Linked DNA regions of Homo sapiens: regions 2, 3 and 4 are each linked to region 1. The links are contacts of gene promoters, found by promoter capture Hi-C in blood cells and fetal thymus (Javierre and others, 2016). All regions are on one chromosome and are shown on one strand. Each heading gives the region's core, a stretch centred on a gene start or on the middle of the fragment in contact. The rest is flanking DNA. Distances are from core to core; before and after follow the strand shown.

Region 1 (3,302 bases), core at 1-2,500:
TGTTCAGCCCTCCGCCCCAAATCGTTCACGATTAGAGACTGTGACGTTTCAAAAGGTATACAGGTGGAAAAAAAACACCTATTTGAGTAAATATAGTTTGTAGCTCGAAATAAAAGATGCAGACCAGGGGCCGGACGCGGTGGCTCATGCCTGTAATCCCAGCACCGTGGGAGGACGAGGCGGGCGGATCATCTGAGGTCAGGAGTTTGAGACCAGCCTGGCCAAAACATGGTGAAACCCCGTCTCTATTAAAAATGCAAAAATTAGCCGGGCGTGGTGGTGGGCGCCTGTAATCCCAGCTACTCTGGAGGCTAAGGCAGGAGAATCACTTGAACCCAGGAGGCGGAGGTTGCACTCCAGCCTGGGCGACAAGAGTGAGACTCCGTCTCAAAACAAAACAAAAACAAACAAACAAACAAAAAAAGGTGCAGACTGTTGTCACGGTCAGGTCTCTATTCACTCTTGAAAACAAGATTGACAATTACCTCCTTTAAAAAGCAGATAACTGTCCCTGAAGATGCGAGGTTACTGAAATGAGATGTCAGAGGTAGACCTTCAAGACTATTCCTAGCCGACCCACCACCACCCCACACAGTGAACAGGGAATACTAAGCTCAAATATTCGTCCAACGTAATCCTGTAATCAGTGGGGTGCCGGGTTGAGCTCGCAAATCCCCGCTGCAGGACAGGGCTCTGCACCCTCAATCTTCTCATCCCCAGATGGGATGGGCGGGTCGGGAGGAGGAGCGACGAGAGCCCAGGAAAGCTTGAAGGCAGAGATAGACTCACGTCTCTAAGACATATACATAATATAGCCGCAACCGCGGCGGCCTTACTTTCCCGGAGCTGCATCCCCTTTTAGGCGAAGAGCGGAGGCGACCAGGGACTACCCTAGGTGAAAGGGCAGCCACCTGGCCCTACCCGGGCTCAACGCCGAGCCTCTCGGAGGTACGGCCTCCCGGGGACCTTCCAGACTGGTCGGCGCAAGCGAAGGGCGGGGACCACCGAAGGAGTGTGTGACTTAGGCATCCAGCGCACTGCCTGACCCGAAGTACCGACCCGAGTTATGCCCACCCTCCAACTTTGCGACGGAAATGTGTCATCGAAAGCCAGGTAACCAGTGGGCCGCGGCTGGGCCGCCGGGGCAGGCTAGGGGCGCCGCGGTGGGCTTCGGGGCCTTTGGGGCCGTGGGCTTTTGCTGCCGCCCGCCCCTTCCGGCTCCTCCCTGTAGAGCAAAGGGCACGTGAGCGAGGCGCCCGAAGCCGTCGCGGCGGGGACCATGTTGCTTCCGAACATCCTGCTCACCGGTCAGGGCGCGCGGCCGGGAGGGACTGGGCTGGGGCAGGCTGGGGGCGCAGAGTGCTCTGGGCATCGGGCGCCCAGGTGGGGGCCCCTCACTGCCCTCTTCAGAGGCCGGCCGAGGGCCACGAGGCGGTTGTCAGCGCCCCGGGAGCCGACCCTCGCGGGCGTTGCGGGAGGCGAGGGAGGGGACGCGGAACGTTAATTCCGTTGGCCTGAGGCTCCGGGGGGGGGCGGGGGGGGGTGGAGAGAGGTCGGCAGATCCAGCTCTCCAGCTTGGCAACCTGCTTAGTCTTTCTGAATCTGGTATTTCGTTTGTAAAATGGGTTGTTGATTCTTTGGCAGGGTTGGCCTTGGGATTTTTAGCGAAATAACGTAAGGCCATATCTGCTTCCCGGTAGAGTCATTAATGGTGGATGCCTCACTCCTTAGGCCTCCGTGGGCCGTATTTTATTTTTTCTTTGCTTCTGATAAACGCCTCAGATTAGATTTCGGTAAACGAGTTCAGATGTTTGTGACGTGACGAAATTGCTGTATGCTTTTGTTGAGTTACATCAAAGGATCCCCCCGCCCCTTAAAAGGAAGGCATATAGAGCATTTCGGGTCGTTTCTCGCGTAGGAGTGGGTCTTTGAAGCCATACTCAGGGTGCATGTTATCAGTGAAGGGAATTAAAATGCTGCATAACGACTTTAACGAATATTTTTGCTAGCCGTTTAGTCCTGAAAGTGTTTATCAAATTGTAGGCCATTCGTGGAAAAATCTAATGCATGTAGATTTTATTGCAAGGTACAGAAAAATTAAGACTCTTTGTGGGAACAGTAAAGTTACATCATTCACCCAAAGGTAAAATTGTTGGCAGCGCACAAGACATGTCTGTTTCTGAGAGGTGCAGATTAACCACCCCACAAATAACGTTTAGAATTTTAGATTCCTTAAGCGGAAGATTTTACATCTTTTTGCATGGATCAAACATAGTGCCCTGGTTATTAAGTCATTGTCAAAACTTTAAAGTGAACATTTTATTGAAAACATGTTGAGTCCAGGGTTCAGACTTGGTGTATTATAGTGGACTTGAGGTGACCGTTATTCTCCTGGGTATGGGAACTGGATTATCCCTGTTATCTTTATGCTTAAGTTTAATTTCAGGGATGTTAAATCTGAATAGCTGAAAATTATGAATTTGATGATCTTGAAATGTAATTTTAATAGGTATCAGAAGGGGAAGGTAAAGAACAATGTATATAGTATTGTCATTTATGTAAAAGGGAATATGTGTTGTATTTATATAACAAAGAGTATGTACATATATGTACATTTACATGCAAACATAAATAGGGTTTCTTTGGGAAAGGAAACTGGTTTACAGTGGTTATCTCTAGGGAAGGGCGCAAGGGGTCAGTAGAGGTAATTTTCAGACTGCTTAATTTTAACATGAACAGTTTTGTTTTTGTTCTTGTTTTTGTTTTTGTTTGAGACAGAGTCTCATTATGTTGGCCAGGCTGGTCTCGAACTCCTGCGCTTAAGCGATCCTCCCGCCTTCTCCTCCCAAATTGCTGGGATTACACGCGCGAGCCACCACACGTGGCCATGAACAGTTTTTAAATCTTTATAAGTTAAAGCAAATAGGCCAGGTGGGTGGCTCATGCCTGTAAATCCCAGCACTTTGGGAGGTGGAGGTGGGGAGATCGCTTGAGCTCAGGAGTTTGAGCTTAGCCTAAGCAACATAGCCAAACCCCGTCTCTACAAAAATTAACCAGGGCATGGTGGTGCATACCTGTGGTCCTAGCTACCGGACAGGCTGAGATGGGAGGATTGCTTGAGCCCAGGAGGTAAAGGCTCTAGTGAGCCAAGTTCCACTGCACTCCAGCCTAGGTAACAAAGAGATATCTTGTCTTTAAAAAAAGAAAAAGGTAAATAAATTATTGTAATTGATTCGAGGTGGCTAATTTTTTTTTTTTTTTTTTTGAGATGGAGTCTCTGTCGCCAGGCTGGAGTGCTGTGG
Region 2 (3,292 bases), core at 451-2,950, 1.1 Mb after region 1:
ACACTTCTGGCTAGACTTTAAAATGGTATTACAGCTGCTTTGGTTTCTCTTCTACATTATTGTACTGTAAGCTTATTCAAGACTAAAACTATGTCAAATCTTTGCCCCCAAAACTCAATGAATGAATAAATGAAACATCTCTTCATGAGATGTTGTAAAGAAAAGTTTGCTGGAGATACATACACTACAGAGCAGGCATAGCAGCCCTGTTTACTGCTCTCCCGGACAAGAAAAGTGCCATCTCGCTTCCCTCGCAACAGGTTTTCAGCTTTGTTTCGGTTGCTGCTTCCAACATTCCATGTCTTCTCATCATGATGGGGCAAATCTTCATCATCTTCCACCAGTGAATATTGGCTAGGCAGGCAGGACAGAAAGTTTCTAAATGAAGAGTGCAGGAGCCATCAGCCTGCCTTGCTGTCTTCCCTAGGCATACCCCCGTCACTTCCCTCCTGGCCCCTACCAAGCCAGTCAGACTGGCCATCACATGCCTGCCTCTGCCCGACCTGAGTTTTCCTCTCCTGGTATTCAGCCTCCAGTGCAACCTCCCAGGACAAAGAGTTACCAATCAACTGTACTATTTCTGTTTTCAAGCAACCACACTCAGGTACCTGGGCAGAGTGGAAGGTATTAAAACAATCTCGTTTATCCAGTTTAGATCAGGAAATTGACTAGGCAGATTGCCAGTTTTTGACTAATTCAAACAAAGTATATACTTAAGCTTTAAAATATATTAAGCATAATTATTTTTTCTCTGACTGTTCCAAAAATATTTTGGGATTTTTCAGATGTTCAGGGACATCATTATGGACACAGAGAGTTGTTTCACAGCATTATGAGTAAAAATAAATCCTAGTCCTCCTTAGCTAAGCTTTCTTTTTTTAAAATTCTGGATAATGGCACTGAGTTTATACATTTTCTCCTACAAGATGTTCCAAACTCAGTAAAATTCCTCACTTGTTCTAAAAACAAAGCAAGTCATGCATTTTCCTAAAATGAGAAAAATCTTCTGCTATCACCATCTTTAGTAACTACTTACTCTTCAGTGTTTTCATTGCCCAACCACTCGTTCAACTTCTTTTGCCGAACACCTTTTTGAGTCAACCACCTGAAAAACAGTTTTGAAAAGAGAACGCATTAACTCATCCTGAATTGTAGCAATCACCAATTATTCATGTATAGGATTCCATTTCAAATACTTACATCAAGTATTGGTCTCTCGTCTTTCTCAGCTGGATAAGGTCTGGTTTAATGCTGTTCATACGTTTGTCAATTTCTCGATACTCAGCTGCCTGCTTCTTCAAGTCTTCTTCCAATCTTCTTCTACTGTCAATAATTTCACTGATTCGAGACTTCAACTTATCATAATTATGCATAATCCTGCAGGCAAAAGAAACGTATTTGTTATTATCTGGGTACATCAGGAACGGTCCCCAAAGTTTATGAAAAGTTTCACTATGGTTTCCCAGCAGTTTTCCTTAGGTAAAGCGTGGCTTCTCTTCCTGTCATTTTTTTTTTTTTTTGGAGTGGCTCAACATATTTTATTTTATTTTATTTTTTTATTTTTATTATACTTTAAGTTTTAGGGTACATGTGCACATTGTGCAGGTTAGTTACATATGTATACATGTGCCATGCTGGTGCGCCGCACCCACTAACTCGTCATCTAGCATTAGGTATATCTCCCAATGCTATCCCTCCCTCCTCCCCCCACCCCACCACAGTCCCCAGAGTGATATTCCCCTTCCTGTGTCCACGTGATCATTCAAAGCACAGAAAGCGAGATCATCTTTAAATGGTTTTAGAGGATTTTGGTTATCTCTAGCACAAGAACAAGGGAAACACCAACCTTTGTATTTCTTTCTCATTGCCTTCACGTTTAAACTTTTCTATGTATTCTTTGCTGTACCGCTCTTGGGTCTGGCACTGTTCTTCAAATATTTTTATGGTTTCATTAAATGCTTCAATAGCTGTCCTTTTCATTTGGATTTCCTGCAACATAATTTTAAAAAGATAATGTCATACCTTTCATAGAACAATCTCTTACTGCAAGACACTACCAGGACATTTGATCTGTATTATTAGCAGAGTGGGACTCAAATTCATAAAATCCATTAAAACAGTATCCCAGAAACAAGTATTTCCTCTGGAGAATTTTCTCAATCTATGAAAAATGATTGCGTAGCAATTTCCTATAGTTTTTATCTTCTTAAAAGCTATTGTAGTTTATAGCATCCCTGTTGTTTTCTGTTCCCTCTGGCATTCCCAGATACATGAGTGACCAGTGAAGAATAAGGGTCTAGAAAAGCACAGCAGTATATAGCCCTTCCTTTTCATGGTAGGATATATATTAATGCCTAAATCTCCATTTCAGGGATTAGACAAGTCTGTGAAACTTCCAGTTATTACTAACTTCCAATCTAAACAGGATCCTTCTATCACGAATTAAATCAACTTGAAACTCAGTGACTGCTTCAGTTATCACGTGAACTTAATTTATTATTCTGATACTTAAAATTTTTGGTTTAAAGCTTTAGAGATATTACACTAGAATAATCAACAATGATTCACAAATAAATGCTCTCACCCCCACCTCATTCGTAAAAACTCAACCTTTTAAATTCTTTTTTCCATGTTAGTCTTTAAAAGTTTAGAACTCTTATTTTTTAATCTGATTTTCATAGAAAACTCACCTGGGATGTGCGGGTATATTCTTCATATAATCTATCATATTCTCGACTTTTTTCTTGAAACTGAGTGTTATATTCATGTAATTTTTTCCCTACAGCTTCAATATTATCTTCTTTGACAACTTGATCCTAGAAAGATTAAAATAAATTCAATGGATAAGGTATTTAATCAAATAACAATTGTTTAACAAAATAGCTGACATGGAAACATCTTTAAAATTGCAATTATGTAATTACGAGTGTCAAGTTTTTTAGACTTGATTACATGTAATTCATCTGCTTCAAATGTTTTCTAAGTATTAAAAGGATCTTGTCTAAACATCGTAACTGGATAATTCATTCAGTTTTTATTACCTGTTGGTATTTGGATACTGGATAAAGTAATTTCACATCCAATTTGGGATTATACTGAGCTAGAGATTCATTCCGGTAGTGGTTTATTAATTCAACCACAGAACTGAAGGTTAATGGGTCAGAGAAGCCATATTTCCCATCTCGATGAAATATTTTGATTAATTTGTTATTTCCCCCTTTCCTGTAAAAACAATATAAAAATAAAGGTATTAACATTTTGGAATAAGGAAATATGTTTTAATATCAGCCCA
Region 3 (2,904 bases), core at 167-2,666, 1.1 Mb after region 1:
ACAGAAATAAATTATAATCAATCAGTTCTGGAGGTCTACTCTTCTTTCAAATCTCCAGTATGATCTCCCTTTTTCTTTTATAGATGGACATGGTTCAGTAGGCTCGGTTAGGTTTTTCCTGTTTATCACTAAACAAGGAAAGACCTACCCATGCCTGGTGACTGCTCTGAGCTAAGGGATCCACTTGGGTGCTAGTTATTTGGCAGTCTGAGATGAAAAGGCCAGTTCCAAGGTGGTTTTCATTTCAACATGGTTTTGGTTAGCCTGAGAGAAAAATCTCCTGCGTTCACCGCCTGACTTTCTGATGCTCTGAGTGATGGAGAGCCTGTAATACTCAAAACCCTCAGTGAACACAGGTCTTTCTAACTCTACCCCACCTTCAGCACTTTATTTTCATGGATCAGGATTCTCAGAATATAACAGTAATAGCCCCTAACTTACCATTCCAGCTCTCTCTGGTTATTTTCTAAGTTGTGACCTCCTACTGATTAGAAAGGCTCTGTCGGAGAGGACAAGGAAGAGGGGGGAAGAGCATTCCTGAGGACAGTTCCCTGGGCCCTTTCTGAATTATGGACAGAGTTAGGGAAGAGATGGGTCTGCCCTGCTACTTTTAGGTAGTCAAAACTTATCCTATATTTTTTAACCCCGGTTCTGTTGAGTTTACAGTAGGCATTTCTTCCCACTAATTCTAGTTTTATGTGTTAAGAATATTTTTTTTTTTCTTCCTATCTTCTTAGGAATTGTACTGAGAAGAGGCTCTCTCGGAGACTCTCAAGAAGCTGTGTCAGGACTACCAGTCAGAGGCCTTTTTAACTCAGAAAACATTTAAAGTTTTTTTTTTTTTTTTCAATGGGAAAATAAGTAAATAAGTAAAATTTCTCAACTTCGCATTCGAGAAGTTCTGCTGGCACTCACTACCTTTGAGAGACTATCTCTGGGCAATGTCACACTGTCCTATTAGACATCTGAAAATAAAATTCACCTGTGCCTTTCCCTTACCCCCTCAATCACCCCTCTGCCCTTGGAATTCAGGTAACAGAAACACAAATGTTATAAATTTGGCAGTGGCCAACTTTCCTGAGAAATATGGTTTGGCATTCAAAGGAATTTGGCAATTTGTACTCAGTCTTTTTAAATGGCATTTACTGCTAACCTTGACATAATTCAGGTACAAGACTTCAGATTCATCTGAATCAACTTCAGGTTTCTTGTTTTTATGGACTTCAAGCAGCTGCTATCCACAGACCAAAACACACAATTCTTATGCTGGATACCCTCAAGTTTTTGGCTTTTAAGCAAGTAATAACTCCAGTCTGTGCTCCATTTTAATCAAAATGATATAATTATGAGTCTGAAATAAGAAAACTTGAAACTCAGGGAAACATTTAAAGCAGACATTTAACTTCTTCAAAAACAACAGAAACGAAGGTAAATCTATTTATCAAGGTTATAAAACTTTTGAGTTATCTGATCATGGTGTATTTCTTCCTGAGAAAAATTGCATTTACATGCACATACCCAAAACTTTGTCTTAGCTTCATGGCCTTATCCGTCTCTTTGTAATTCAATCCTTTCAAATATTTACCAGACATAAGAAAATGTTGTAAGTCACATATAAATTGGAGGTAAATTTCTGGAGTTGCATGAATGTAATAGCTAGTGAAACCTAACAGATAAAGCAGACATAATTGAAGACCACCCAAAAAGCAAAATTCAGTTACCGATCACTTCACAAGAGACTGCTTAAGGAGATCCTCATGACTGCCTGCCTTGCCCAAAATGTTCTTGAATCTTATCAATGTGCCATCACTATGATATTTTTTAATATGATCACTTTTTAAATATTTACACAATCACATGACCTTCAGTTTTTAAATCTCAAAAACGGTTATAGGGCCAGGCGTGGTGGCTCATGCCTGCAATCCCAGCACTTTGGGAGGCCGAGGTGGGCGGATCACAAGGTCAAGAGATCGAGACCATCCTGGCTAACACAGTGAAACCCCGTCTCTACAAAAAATACAAAAAATTAGACGGGCGTGGTGGCAGGTGCCTGTAGTCCCAGCTACTCGGGAGGCTGAGACAGGAGAATGGCGTGAACCCAGGAGGCGGAGCTTGCAGTGAGCCGAGATCGTGCCACTGCTCTCCAGCCCGGGCGACAGAGCGAGACTCCATCTCAAAAAAACAAACAAACAAACAAAAAAAGGTTATAATATGCCATCTTTGCAGGGTGGTTGTGAGCGTCAAATGAAAAATGTCTATAAAATGCCTGGCAGGGCCAGCGTGGTGGCTCGCGCTGGTAATCCCACCAGTTTAGGAGGCCGAGGTGGGTGGATCACCTGAGGTTAGGAGTTCGAGACCAGCCTGACCAATATGGTGAAACCCTGTCTCTACTAAAAATACAAAAATTAGCCAGGCGTGGCAGCATGTGCCTGTAGTCCCAGCTACTTGGGAGGCTGTGGCTGGAGAACTGCTTGAACCCAGGAGGCAGAGGTTGCAGTCAGCTGAGATTGAGCCACTGCACTCCAGCCTGGGCAACAGAGCAAGATTCAAAAAAAAAAGAAAAAAAAAAATGCCTGGCAGAATAATTAGCAAAGAGTAAGTTTGCAAATGTTTAAGGTTCATTTTGAAGAAGACATTTTCAATAGTTAAACAGACCCACAGGGAAGTGTAAGACAAAAACTATAATATGTACTTTGATATACTCTAACCAAATTCATTATATCTCATTCCTTGGTACTCCACAGATATTCCTTATTATTTAGCAATAAAATCATCTTGTTCTAACTTCTTCAAATACTTCTGAATCAAAAATAAACTTACTTTTTGCTACCTGAAAGAACATGGTGAGATTTAATTAACAATGTGTAAAATGCTTTGAAATTATGCATTAATGATGCCACAAAT
Region 4 (3,283 bases), core at 51-2,550, 1.1 Mb after region 1:
ATGTGGGCATTCTTTGTACAATTATACCTCTGACGGAGTCCAAAACTGAGTTTCACTCTTTTTGGCTTAAACACCTAATTTCAGTTAAAATGATGTGAGGCAGTATATAATTTTTTTAAGCGTTATGAGGGAATGAAGGATCTTGAAAGATTTATAAGAAGATGACTTGCTGGAATGCTGGCAAGTAAATTGATTTGTAGTTTTTCATCTATGCCAAAGGAGGGAGTGGGTGTTTGGGGTACTAAAGCCCTCTTGGCTAAATTAATTAGTGTTATTTAACAAACTGTCCTCAATTCTTCCCAATTCCACATCCAGTGACATCATGTTGGTTAGCTTGAAATAAGCCCCGGTGGGAATATTCATGCCACAAAAATGGGCAGATGCTACAAACCAGGGCCTTTTTCTTCCTAGAGAGTTGGTTTATCAGCACACCACTGAACATAACAATATCGTGATGTTACTTAATGCACTCAACACAAAAAAAGAAAGAAGGCAAGCCAGAAAGAAAGGGAAACGGAAAAGGAAAATGGAAGGGAAAGGTAATAAAAGAAAAAGGATGTCAGAAGAGACATTTCTTAAGTGACATAGGCTTAAAAATATTTTTTAATTGATTCAGATGAATTAGATGTAGCCAAATTCAGGGTCAAGGAAAGATGGTAGATACACAGAGCGAGAGAAACACCAAGAGGTGGTTTCTCTCCTCTGCAGGACCCAGGGCCTGATGGCTATGATGATGACCAACATGCCTGCAGGGAGGCGTGCACACACTTGCAGCCCAACTCAGGAGAAAAATTTCAAAGGTTTGCACTGTTACCATAACAGGGCAGGGAGAACTGTACATGATTTGAGTTCCCTTTAAATTTAGAACACTGCATAGATTAAATTCAATTTTGTGTGTGTGCATTACCTGAAACAGAAAGCCAAGACCTGTCTTTCCCATTTGCATTTCTAGCTCTGTGACACTCACCACAATCAAGAAGCTGTCGTAATTCTGCCAGGTTGCTGGAGCTCTGTGTTCTGTATAGAGTTGAACATTCCAGACCTAGGACACAAAACAGACCACAGACCATGTATGCAAAACACAGCTCTCTGGAGAACCTGTGAGGCTGCTGCCAGAGACATTCCAGTTTCCATCCAGTATCTGTTCTAGATGTGTACCAAATATTCTTGGAAGTCAACTCCTACTATTAATCTTACCTGGCATGTTGATAATTTTGGCAAAACCATCTGGCCTCTAAGAAGAAAGTTAATCATATTTATTAAATTATGAAGAATTTAATAGTTTCCATATGGAAACTACATGATAATCTAGAGTTAGAAATTATAGACTGAGACATTTTTCCCAGTACTTAGCCCCAAACAGTTTGAGTGTCCAGCAGAGTATCTGGACATAGCTGGTAGTAGGAAATTTACTTAATGAATGCACAAGAGACAAATAATAAGAGCCATGAAATAAGGGTAGAACAAAGGAACTGATGCCCTCTAGCAGTCTGGTTACCTTTCTTTTCAATGGCTTCCACGAGCTTGATAAGAAGAGGCGGGGCAATGTCAGGAGGGGCAAACTGCTCTGCAAGATCCGGGAGAGTCAAAGCTGCAAACAACAAAATCCCACCATTGTATTTAATTTGGATAGTTGAATGCATTAGACCACAATGAAGGACGTACAAAATAATTTAATTACATCAGGCCCGAGCAAGAAGAACCCCTGCTCTGGGCTTTTGCACTTTCCAGGCCAAAGTGATATGCCCACTGCTTCTCACCTAGGGTCTACTCAGAGTAATGCTCCAGGATTTCCTGCTAAATGGCCTCTTATGGCCTTTCCCCCAGGTCCACCCTCCCCAGGACAAACCCCCCTGTCTAGGTACACCCCTGGGCCCCAAAGGTGGGGGGAGTGGCAGGATGGATGGGAGTTTGGATGTGCAGGGAGAAGCCAGGGATGAACCAGGATCCAGCTCTCCCCATAATACCACACTCTAGGGCAGAACTCTCAGGAGCCCAAGAACCTGAATTCAGATCTCTCCTCCTGGTCATTAGGAAGAAATAACTGCCTAGAAAGGATGGGACAGATTTTATTGAACAGTTGACATGATTTATAACAAAAATACTTAGGCACAGGGTACTTGGGCCTCTTTTTGCATTCTTGCCCCAAGCCTCACAAATGCCAGGTATGGGCTGAGTCTCAGATCCAGAAGCCAATATGAATGATCACTGCCCACTTGATATCAAAATAAATTTCTGTATAACTTTGTCAAAGCCTTTGTTTATGTATTTTTTGGTCAATTAGTAGTTTTTAAAATGTGGTGTTTTCGTAAACTTTTTGCATGCGTTTTAACCATTTACAATGATACCAAAAAATCTAACTGGATGACACTCATAAATAACATTCTTCAACATTACATTGATAACCTTATTCTCAGTCCAAAAAAAATAAATAAGACCATTGTAAGCAAAAAAATTCTCAAATTATGCCAGAAGAGGGAGCTAAATATATTCATCTTAAATTTGTGAAACTGCAAAATAAAGGTAAATTAAAGTCATTATGAAAATATAAGTACAACCTGTTTATTAGCCTCATTGCTTGCAGTCTTTTCTAGGAATAATTTATATAATCTGAGAAAGACTAAATATTTGCAATTTTGTTTCTGTGAGATTTTACCAGTATAGCTCTTTATTAGAAGCCATATACTATGGTAAACAAATTTCCTTTTTCTTTTTTTTTTTTTTTTTTGAGACAGGGTCTCGCTCTGTCACCCAGGCTGGAGTGTAGTGGCGTGATCATGGCTCGCTGCAGCCTCAACTTCCTGAGTTCATGTGATCCTCCCCCCCCAGCCTCCTGAGTAGCTGCGACTACAGTGCACAGCATCACTCCCAGCTAATTTTTTGTATATTTTTAGTAGAGACGGGGTTTTGCCATATTGCCCAGGCTGGTCTCGAACTCATGGACTCAAGCAATCCACCCACCTCAATCTCTCAAAATGCTGGGATTACAGGTGTGAGCCACTGCACCTGGCCAACAAATTTTTAATTAAGCCTGTATTTCAAGTACTAAAAGTCAACATAGAACAAATTCACGTTATGAAAGTAATGTTATTAAATTTTGATCTCAGAGAAGTATGATTAAGTCATTTTGCAAAAACATTCTTTCAGATTTCAGTATGCAATGTGCAGTACATAGATGGATGCATGATCTTTCCACCTAATTCTATTAGCCATTGCAACTACCCAGGATAAAAAGAGAAGAGCTATATTATGAGGGAAAATCCTACAGTAGCACTATTAGAGC

The links. Contacts are between HindIII fragments. The CHiCAGO score rates a contact against its expected background, and 5 or more counts as called.
Region 2: a contact is called between a fragment that was not itself captured here and the fragment with the promoter of TAF9 in region 1, in 1 of 17 cell types (total CD4 T cells). The highest score is 5.1, in total CD4 T cells.
Region 3: a contact is called between a fragment that was not itself captured here and the fragment with the promoter of TAF9 in region 1, in 1 of 17 cell types (total B cells). The highest score is 7.1, in total B cells.
Region 4: a fragment that was not itself captured here is called in contact with the fragment with the promoter of TAF9 in region 1 in 1 of 17 cell types (total CD4 T cells); the score reaches 8.6 in total CD4 T cells.

The regions. Positions count from the first base shown.
Region 1 is chr5:69,367,468-69,370,769 of GRCh38, reverse strand. TAF9 (TATA-box binding protein associated factor 9) reads left to right here and starts at 1,250. Exons shown (of 3, transcript NM_003187.5): 1 at 1,250-1,307. It overlaps AK6 (adenylate kinase 6), which reads left to right and starts at 1,250. Exons shown (of 5, transcript NM_016283.5): 1 at 1,250-1,307. The coding sequence starts at 1,280. It overlaps RAD17 (RAD17 checkpoint clamp loader component), which reads right to left and starts at 952. Exons shown (of 19, transcript NM_133338.3): 1 at 837-952. RefSeq lists an enhancer at 149-698. The HindIII fragment of the contact is 4,867 bases long and covers 769-3,302 here.
Region 2 is chr5:68,293,233-68,296,524 of GRCh38, reverse strand. PIK3R1 (phosphoinositide-3-kinase regulatory subunit 1) reads right to left here. Exons shown (of 16, transcript NM_181523.3): 10 at 3,042-3,222; 11 at 2,691-2,816; 12 at 1,847-1,989; 13 at 1,201-1,377; 14 at 1,037-1,105; 15 at 184-354. Among named protein-coding and RNA genes, the nearest start is that of PIK3R1, 79 kb to the right of the region's middle. The HindIII fragment of the contact is 1,660 bases long and covers 871-2,530 here.
Region 3 is chr5:68,235,539-68,238,442 of GRCh38, reverse strand. The region is part of intron 2 of PIK3R1 (phosphoinositide-3-kinase regulatory subunit 1); the gene reads right to left. Among named protein-coding and RNA genes, the nearest start is that of PIK3R1, 21 kb to the right of the region's middle. The HindIII fragment of the contact is 4,300 bases long and covers 1-2,904 here.
Region 4 is chr5:68,271,698-68,274,980 of GRCh38, reverse strand. It overlaps PIK3R1 (phosphoinositide-3-kinase regulatory subunit 1), which reads right to left. Exons shown (of 16, transcript NM_181523.3): 3 at 1,499-1,591; 4 at 968-1,042. Among named protein-coding and RNA genes, the nearest start is that of PIK3R1, 58 kb to the right of the region's middle. The HindIII fragment of the contact is 5,183 bases long and covers 1-3,283 here.